2 separate regions of the Homo sapiens genome follow, and region 2 is linked to region 1. Evidence: promoter capture Hi-C in 16 types of primary human blood cells and fetal thymus (Javierre and others, 2016). All regions are on one chromosome and are shown on one strand. Each heading gives the region's core, a stretch centred on a gene start or on the middle of the fragment in contact. The rest is flanking DNA. Distances are from core to core; before and after follow the strand shown.

The links. Contacts are between HindIII fragments. The CHiCAGO score rates a contact against its expected background, and 5 or more counts as called.
Region 2: a contact is called between a fragment that was not itself captured here and the fragment with the promoter of GABARAPL2 in region 1, in 1 of 17 cell types (naive B cells). The highest score is 5.5, in naive B cells.

What each region holds. Positions count from the first base shown.
Region 1 is chr16:75,564,144-75,568,908 of GRCh38, reverse strand. It overlaps GABARAPL2 (GABA type A receptor associated protein like 2), which reads right to left and starts at 2,530. Exons shown (of 4, transcript NM_007285.7): 1 at 2,389-2,530; 2 at 2,002-2,057; 3 at 700-872. The coding sequence starts at 2,422. RefSeq lists an enhancer at 1,315-2,068 and a silencer at 2,058-2,467. The HindIII fragment of the contact is 5,212 bases long and covers 1,125-4,765 here.
Region 2 is chr16:75,498,079-75,502,843 of GRCh38, reverse strand. It overlaps the pseudogene TMEM231P1. Among named protein-coding and RNA genes, the nearest start is that of CHST6, 5.0 kb to the right of the region's middle. The HindIII fragment of the contact is 6,365 bases long and covers 1-4,765 here.

The sequences.
Region 1 (4,765 bases), core at 1,281-3,780:
GACGGAGCCCATCCACTTTCCTTTTTCCACAGGGGACTAAAGCTGGGCTGTCAAACACACAGAAAACGGGAATTCTAATGCCTCTGCCTACATTCAGGCCACAAGTTACAGTCCCAAAGATTGCTTCCAGGCAGCACAATAGTCTGACAGTCAAAGCAAGTGCTACCAAGGGAGGTATAAGTCTGTAAAGAGACTTCAGAGCCCTTTACTGTGCCGCAGTCATTTTGTCAGACTTGAGGATCAGGCAGCTATAGACTCTTACAATGTCAAAGAGTTGACCAAGTTTGGGAGCAAGCAAACTGGATGATTAACTGAGTGAGCCTCAGCAGGGCCCACAGGCTCCCAGTGGAGGAGCATGCCAGGACTGCCTTCAGGGAAGAAAACCTCATTTCAGGCCTCAGTTCTACCTATAGCTTAAGACTAAATAAGTTCTCAACCGTTTTAAAAGATTCTTGGAGATCTTAGGCTGAGTTTCATCATTTTTTTAAAAGTCCAGGCCTTGTTCTATTTTCTGAATCCAAAATGCACTCTTATGTATTGCAGCCATTATTTTCCTGGAGCCCCTGATGTCAGGGAGCATAAAATCCAGATTTCTAGTCAGGACCCCTAAGAGTTTTCAGACTTCCAAAGTTTTGGAGTTCCGTAAGCAGCCAACCAGATGTCTAATACCAGAGGGCCCATCTAGTAAACACCTCTCACCTGGACTGTGGGACTGTCTTATCCACAAACAGGAAGATCGCCTTTTCAGAAGGAAGCTGGATCCTTTTCCTGATGATCCACATGAACTGAGCCACAGTGATATCAGATGGAACCAAGTACTTCCGTTTGTCAATGTCAACAATCTGAGAGCCTGAGACCTTTTCCACAATCACCTGGGAAAGTAAAGAGAGGTCAGGACTGTGTTTCCTAAAGCGAGGCTCTGGCCTCACATGGCTGAGGAGCTGATGAACAGAGTGTGGGCAAGGAGGTGGGTGGGGAACTGCATAGCAGGAGAAAATATGTCTTTGGCTTAATAAACCACACGCTCTGGAGGTTAAGAATTGATATAAATGTGTTACAGGGAAACAGTAAGTGCTTTTCTGTGGTCAATTATGTAAGAGAAATGCAGCCCTTACCACTAAGCTTTTCCACATTTTATCTGGGCAGACCTAAGAATATCTGGGGAGGGTTTCATCCATGGCCCGTTACTCCAGGACCCCAGAATGGATCCACCTTCACACTACAGGAAACACTACTGTGTTCCCAAGGAACACAGGAGACAAGAATGGATGGACTAATTGGAATGCCTGGAATTTTAGCCAGCCAAGAACCAAGTTCTTCATTTGGCCTGTTGCTCCTCTCTGAACAAGTTTCAAATCCGTCCCTCCTACTCCTTTCCCCAGACAAATTATTCACAAGCAAAGAGCTACAATAACAGGCCTTAATGTCCATTAAAAATTAATAACGATTACAAAACTATCTCCCCAACCATGGAAGAAATATAACATTATATTTATTATTGACTAAGAAGAAAATATGGCAGAAGGGGTTTTCAGCGGCTTTTCACATTATTTTGGTCAGGCAAGGATGACAGGGTCAAGGTGAGATAACGGAGCTAGAAGTTAGGTAAAGATGGAGACAAAGTAAAAGATGAACGTCCTGAGACTCAAGTACCACTTCCAAGACCAAAATGACAGTCTCCCTCCACCACCATTCCCAAAAGTGGCAGTGACCTGTTGCCCTGTCCTAGAACATCGTTCCTTACATAATTGGCCAGGGAGCCCCGAGGCTGCAGACGGCTCGCTGGCCTAGATCGGGAGATTCAGCACTGAGGCACCCTGAACAGCACCAGCCCGAGCCCCTCACGCCCCGGCCCTGGGCGGCCTCATCCCGGTCTGGCCCGTCAGCTACTGTAACTGGGACTGGAACCTCAACTTGTCAACTGTTGAATGGCCTGGGGCCTATCACGGGTCCCAGACGACAGAGGTGACAGCGAGGTGAGGGGGCGGAGAGTCCACTCACCGGAACCCTGTCGGGATATTTCGCTCGAATCTTCGCGGACTCCACGCATCTGTGTTCTGTGGGAGAAACAAACGGGGCTGACGGCCGCGCCTGCCCACCGGTCGGTTCCCGGCCCCCGGCCCTCCTCCTCCTGCGCCCTGCGTACAACCCAGGCCCTGGTTCCGGCGTCCCCGGGGCCGCGGTCCTGTCCCCTACTAGCTCCCAGCAAGGCCCGCGGAGGGTGACATGGGGTCAGGGGGCCGCTGCCCGAGGCACCAGGGCATGGGCGACTCCAGCCCGCAGCAGGGCATCCGCCCCGCTCCACTCGGCCCAGGGCCGCCCGAGTGGGGGAGGGGGCCCACCCGCCGCCCCAGCCCCCAGCAGCCGGGCCGACGACCAAGTGCTTACCCAGCGAGTGGTCCTCCTTGAACATCCACTTCATGGCGGCGGCGGGAAGGGGACGGAACCGGCTCGCGGAGCCGCGGAGCTCAGCGCACCGAGCACAACAACAACGACGGCGGCAGCGGCAGCGGCAGCGACGGCGGCGACTACACGGCAGGCGGGACTTCCGGCTGTCGGAGCCTAGCAACCGGCCGGGGGCGGGGCTTCCGGCGCCATTTGTCAGGGCGCCACGCCAAGGGGCGGGGCCGCACGTAAAGGGGCGGGGCCGCGGAGGACCCCTTTGGGGGCTCCTGGGCTGCGGTGGCGAAGAAGTTGGTTATGGGGACGTCTGTGAGCAGTATCTGCGACATTGCTCGCAGGAATGTTCGGGGAACTGGTGACAGGAGTGGGGTCTCGGGAGCGTTGGTGGCGGAAAACGTCTGGCTGATAGTGTAGGGCTCTTACTGAGGGCTGTTTGGGGGTGTGGCTGATAGCTGAGGGCTCTTAGAGCGGTTCATAGGGGAAGTCTGGGGAATTGGTGACAAGAACGGTCTTTAGGGGTAAGAATGACATAAGGAGGGCTTTCTAGAGCTTGGCGATAACAAGGGAGCTGTTTAGGGCGTTGACAGTTTGGGGAGTATTGCTCGGAGTGGTGACAGGTTGGGGGCTCATTATGGGAGGGGAGGGTGTTTGAGGACACTGTTGGAAGCGGCACTGAGGACAACCCGGAGGTCCGTATTAGGGACAGCCGTAGTAGGTTGTCTTGGACCTAGAAATTGAATTTAAACAAATCCCGTTTTCTTCCTTTATTCGTGAATAAATATTTGAATAAACATTTACGAAAAGGTATCACAAATGCACATTTGAGGCGGGGTACGGTGGCTCACGCCTGTAATCCCAACACTTTGGGAGGCCGACGCGGGTGGATCACCTGAGGTCAGGAGTTGAAGACCAGCCTGGCCAACATGGTGAAACCCCGTCTCTACTAAAAATACAAAAATTAGCCAGGCATGGTAGTGGGCGCCTGTAGTCCCAGCTCCTCGGGAGGCTGAGGCAGGAGAATCGTTTGAACCAGGGAGGTGGAGGTGGCAGTGAGCCGAGATCACACCACTGCACTCCAGCCTGGGCAACAGAGCAAGACTCCGCCTCAAAAAAAAATGCACATTTGAGGAGTGTAACATCACTGATCACAGACCCCTTAATTTTAACTGGCAGAGGAGTTAGAGGTGACTGTCAGACTCGGAGAATTCCCCTGAGAGCTGGTCATGAGATGGGTTTCCTTATTTGGCTGTGGGAGTGGTTTAGCAATCACAGCCTGAGCTGTGTGTGTGTCACCTGCCCGGACATATGCTTTGAGGTTCTCCAATCAGTGATGTAATGCCTTTTTTCCAAGCAGACTCATCAAGGCAGTCTGGTCTGGGTCACCATCTGTTTATAAGCTGCTGAACATGTAGCAGGAATATTCACTTAATTGGGCACATGAACCCTGCCACGTGCTTGTGATTCTGATGCACCTGTAAAGCCTGTATGTTTGAATGTGGTAGTTCATCATTTCCTACACTGGAAATTCCTGATCGATGCTGTGGAATCTAGCTTCATTCTATAAGTATTTTTGTTATTTTAAGACTGTGTGTCTGAGTAACTAGAATAGGTTTTTTTGTTTCTTTGTTTTTGTTTTTGTTTTTTGGAGACAGGGTCTTTCTCTGTCACCCAGGCTGGAGTTCAGTGGCACAATCTTGGCTTACTGCAGTCTGCCTCCTGGGTTCAAGCGATTCTGCTGCCTCAGCCTCCTGAGTAGCTGGGACTACAGGGACACACCACCACACCCAGCTAATTTTTGTATTTTTGGTAGAGATGGGGTTTTGTCATGTTCGCCAGGCTGGTCTTGAACTTCTCACCTCAAGTAAGTGATTTGCCCGCCTCGGCCTCCCAAAGTGCTAGGATTACAGGTGTGAGCCACTGCATCTGTTTGTTTGTTTTTAATGAAGTGGAAAAAATCCTTTGAATTTCCTACTTAGAAATTATTGTTACATACAAGAGCTCTGTGCTAGGTGCTGGGGAAAAACAGTGAAGAAGACAGATGACATCCCTATTCTCATGGGTGGCAGCATGAGATATTCTTGTCCCCCTGACATATTCTAGTGGGATAAGACAAAAAATAAGTATGTTAGGTAATGATAGGTGCTATTTCGAAAAATAAAGCACAGTAGGTGACTAGAGAGTGTGGTGGGATGGAATGCTAATTAGATAAAGTGCCTGGCATATTCTAGGGAACCCCTGTGGCTGGAGCTGAATAAATGAGAGAGGAGAGTGTGTTATGAGACAAATTCAAAGATATCTAGAACAAAACTGTGTTGAGCTTTGAATTCCATGCAAAGAGCTTTGGATTTTATTTAGAATGAGA
Region 2 (4,765 bases), core at 966-3,465, 66 kb after region 1:
ACACTGACCACTTATTTTCATCCCCACAGAAGGAAGGACAGAGTAAATGAACTTAAATTGTTGCAAGAGAGTTTATTCATCTTTGAAGAAAAGATTATTGATACTGCAGTAGGCCACCAAGAACAAGAGGGTGCTCTGTGGGACCAGCCTGGGTGGGCAGAAGGGTAGAAGGAAAAGAGGAGGAGTCTCCCAGGTGCTCACACCACATCCTCCTCCCGTGTCCCAAGTATCTGTGACCAACGGGACCAGCCCCTTTGCCTATGACTACGACCTCACCCATATTGTTGCTGCCTACCAGGAGAGGAACGGTGGGTCACAGGTAGAGCCCATTCAGCCGCTGCTCAGGACTTTCAAGGTTAGTGGGGGCAACAGAGACAAGCAGAACTGGAACCCTTGTGATGAAAATGTCAAAACCCGTGAATGCTCAACGATGGGAGCAAATGTGCTGCCCAGGATTTGTCTTTTTCGTCCTGATCTTCAGACCCGGGACCACCCGCACCCCTCCAGCATCCCGTGGTCCAGCAGGCTAGTGATGGTTAAATGCCATCATTATCCCACCACTGGCTTGGTGGGTTTCTCTTTTAAAAAATATAAGCCTAATTGAGTTGTTCCCCATAGCACACCTATAACAGATGCCAAAGACAAATTGCTGTTCATGCTTTTCAGAGAAAAACAGAGAACGTGGGTGACTCTCCCCACATTAGCAGTCCAGCAGGAGAACAGGAGTGCCCCTGTTTCCTGCCAGAAGGCACAGTGTGCTCATTCCTTACAGAGCTCTAGGCCATGGCATGTGTTCACTCGGCATGTTTGGCTGGTCCGTGGCTGAGGATGTCTGTGAAGGCATCTAGAGTGTTACTTGGCAACCAGACATCATGGAGACTATACACAAACATTTCACAAGGGGGAACGACTGCAAATCCAGTATTGCTTTCTGATTTTATGTCATACATTAGCAGCATTTTTATAATAGTAAAGGGAATTCTAAAACAAAACTAAAAAGCACGGCCCAAGAAATCGATGTTTTTTCTTTACTTTTTTCACTCTTTATTCTTATGTGGATTTTAAAAATATACCTATTATGATAGTGTTGAAACACTTTGGCATCCAAATTATTTGTATTTCCATGTAATAAAAGTATTTCCCCACACTGCTACAAAGTTCTAATTTTTTTTTTTCTTGAAGAGACACAGGGTCTTGCTCTGATGATCAGGCTGGAGTGCAGTGCTGTAATCATAGCTGATTGTAACCTTGAACTCCTGTGGGCTCCGTGATCCTCTCACCTCAGCCTCCTGGGCCGCTAGGACTACAGGCACGTGCCACCATGCCCAGCTAATTTTTTTTTATTTTTTAGTAGAGAGAGGGTCTCAATATGTTAGCCAAGCTGCTCTCAAACTCCTGGCCTCAAGTGACCCTCCCACCTTGGCCTCCCAGATCCTTGGGATTACAAGAATGCGCGACTTTGTCCAGACAAACATATTATTTAGAGTGGCAACATGTTATTCTTTCAGTTAGCCATTCAGCAATTGTAGATGATCACATGACCATTTCCAAGTTTTTGACGTATTTTAATATAAATATCGTATTAGTCCTTTCTCACACAGCTGTAAAGACATACCTGAGACTGGGTAATTTATAAAGAAAAGAGGTTTAACTGACTTAGAGTTCTGCATGGCTGGGTAGGCCTCACAATCATGGCAGAAGGCACCTCTTCACAGGGCGGCAGAAGAGAGAATGAGAGCAGAGCTAAGTAAGCAGATCTGATAAAACCATCAGATCTGGTGAGAACTCACTATCATGAGAATGGCATGGGGAAACTGCCCCCATGATTCAATTATCTCCACCTGGTCCTGCCCTTGATCCGTGGGGATTGTTACAATTCAAGGTGAGATTTGGGTCATAGAGCCAAACCATATCAAATGCTTTTTTGACAAGTATCTTAACAAATTATTTGTTAATCTACTTTGTACATGCAATTTTTAATGCTTTCGAATGATTTCTTTTAGTTCTGAAGTACAGAATATCCCACAGGAATAAAATAATACTTTTATAGCCGAGCGTGGTGGCTCATGCCTATAATCCCAGCACTTTGGGAGGCTGAGGCAAGCAGATCACCTGAGGTCGGGAGTTCAAGACCAGCCTGACCAACATGGAGAAACCCCATCTCTACTAAAAATACAAATTTAGCTGGGCATGGTGGCACCTGCCTGTAATCCCAGCTACTTAGGAAGCTGAGGCAGGACAATTGCTTGAACCCGGGAGGCAGAGGTTGCAGTGAGCCAAGATCACTCCATTGCACTCCAGCCTGGGCAACAAGAGCGAAACTCCATCCCAAAAACAATAATAATATTTTTATAGCCCTAATATATTTTGCCAATAGGCTGCCCCATCATGGATTAATGGTTAATGATTGTATTGCAGTTGCCACCATCCTGAATGACCCCAACTTCATCTGGCTGGTAGGCAGAGCCATGAAACTCCATTTGTGATTAATGTTGTCATCCAGTACCCTGTGGAAACCATATCATATCCTTTCTGTTACAGAGGCAGTGGTAACTCAACTTCCAAAAAGGAAAGATTCCAAAGTTGTCCCCAGCAGAAACACATGTGGGAGCCTTTGATTGGAAATTGCTACAGCACTGTATCTCCACATAAATGACTATGTCTGCTCTTTATACAGGGGGGAAGATCATTTCCTGTTCGTATTTCTTTCTGAGCCATTCTTCTAAGTCAGAATCATCCATATTTATTTTTTAATAATCTTTTATTATTCCTTTCATCTTAAGAGTATTTGAAATATTCTTGCCATATCCTGTCTGGCCTAAACCTTAGTTTACTTTGACTTATACCATGTGGTCCCCAACTCTTTAACTGTCTGTCCTTATCAGCCAGGATTCTGGGCGATGGTAAAGTTCGCCTGGGTGCAGTATGTCAGCATCCTGCTTATCTTCCTCTGGGTGTTTGAAAGAATCAAGATCTTCGTGTTTCAGAATCAGGTGGTGACCACCATCCCTGTGACAGTGATGCCCCAGGGAGAAGTGTGTAAGGAGCACTTATCCTAGAAAGGCCGTTTCTGAAGACTCAGCAGGACCATGGCTGCCTCATTGTCATCTTCTGGGAACGTCTTAGGACCTTTTGAAAGAGCCCAGCGGACACCTGCGGGCTTGTGTGCTTTTCCCTCAGAGACAACGGTTCTTTCCAGTTTTGCTCTACACAGTTCCGTATCTTCAGAGCTCCTGCAGAATTGTCAGGGACTAGTTTGTGGAAAGGTCTGAGAGTTCCTGGAGGCTATAATTAGCTTTTTGGGTTTTTCTTCTTTGCCTTAGCGTTGAATTTCAGGAGAAAATTGCAGTCAGTTCAGACATCTTGGAAAGAGTCCCATCTCTGGTCAAGCAGAGACTTTTCCTCTGTTGAACTGAGGAACACACTGTGCATTTCTTCCTTCTGTTGTGAGCCACTCTTACTCTTTTCAGGGCTCTCTTGTGACAAACATGCCAATCACTAGCACTTTGCACCCCTGGGCTTCTCCATTTCCCATTCACAGCTTTGATTTCCAGAGCTGAGGCCTTTAACTGGAGACCTGGAGGGGCAGGGCCCAAGGGCAAGGGCCGCATTAGCACAGGCAATCAGGGAGGGCCGCTGAAGGACACTTGGACCGTCCACCTGCCCCAGCCCAACAGTCAGTCATCTGTCATCAGCTCAGCTGAGCAGCCCTGGATCCCTGCCCGACTGTGGCTGGCTCTTTGCCCGGTTTTTCCCTCTGTCTGTGCCCCTGGATGGCAGGCTGAAGTCAGAGGGGCTGTTTCATTCTCAGCCCCCTCAGCAGCACTGGGGGAAGAAAGCATTGTCACAACAGGTTCTTTCTGGCCCTCACCCAACAGCCTGGGCACTTGGCCCTCCTCCTCCTTGACAGCCCTCCCCCTTCCTGCAAAGGACAGGGGCGACAGGGGTTGGTGTTGGGATTGGCTCCCGCTGCCTGACAACCACAAGTTTATTTGGAAGGCTAGCGGGAAGCCCAGCGGCTGGCGTTTCCCTTGACTAAGGAAAAGGGTGCCCATCAGAGTGGGGCGGGCAGCTTTGGGAAGGACACAAGAAGCAGTGAGGGTGTAAAGAGGATGCTGGCCTGGGCAGGCCAGTCCAGCCTGGCCACTAGCAGAATACCAAGCAGTCCAGTGGATTATCCTCGTGGCTAAGCAAGTGTCTGCAGGAGCAGAGATGGCTGGAAGGGGCCTCTGCACACGGAAGATGGCTTGTTCAGCCGATTCACCTCCTGAGGATGCGTGCAGTCTCCTCCAAGAACACATGGAGCTGCTTCCTGATCCCAAGCAGGTCGTTGCCCCTGGAAGGACATGGCTCCGGTGATCCATGCTTCATGCCCACCCAGAAACACACCCCTCAGTGTGTGCCTCAGTTTACCTTGGAGATCATTTTTCATCTCCAGCATCCGTTTCCTTTAGGCTGACTAAAAACAGTTTTGGAAACAAAGCTATTTTGAAGTATTCAAGCAGAGGAATTCTCTAACACTGTCCCCCTTGTCTTTTTTTAATATTCTGGCTATTTTAGATGCCTAAATTTTTTTCTTGAGATTTATTTATTTTTATAGATGGGGTTTTCACTATGTTGCCCAGGCTGGTCTTGAACTCCCAACCTCAGGAAATCCTCCTGTCTCAGCCCCACAAAGTGCCAGGAATATAGGCATGGGCCAGTGTGCCCCGTCTCTTGAGACTGAAATGAAAAATTGCTTGTGGTTTAAATCCCCAGAATTTAA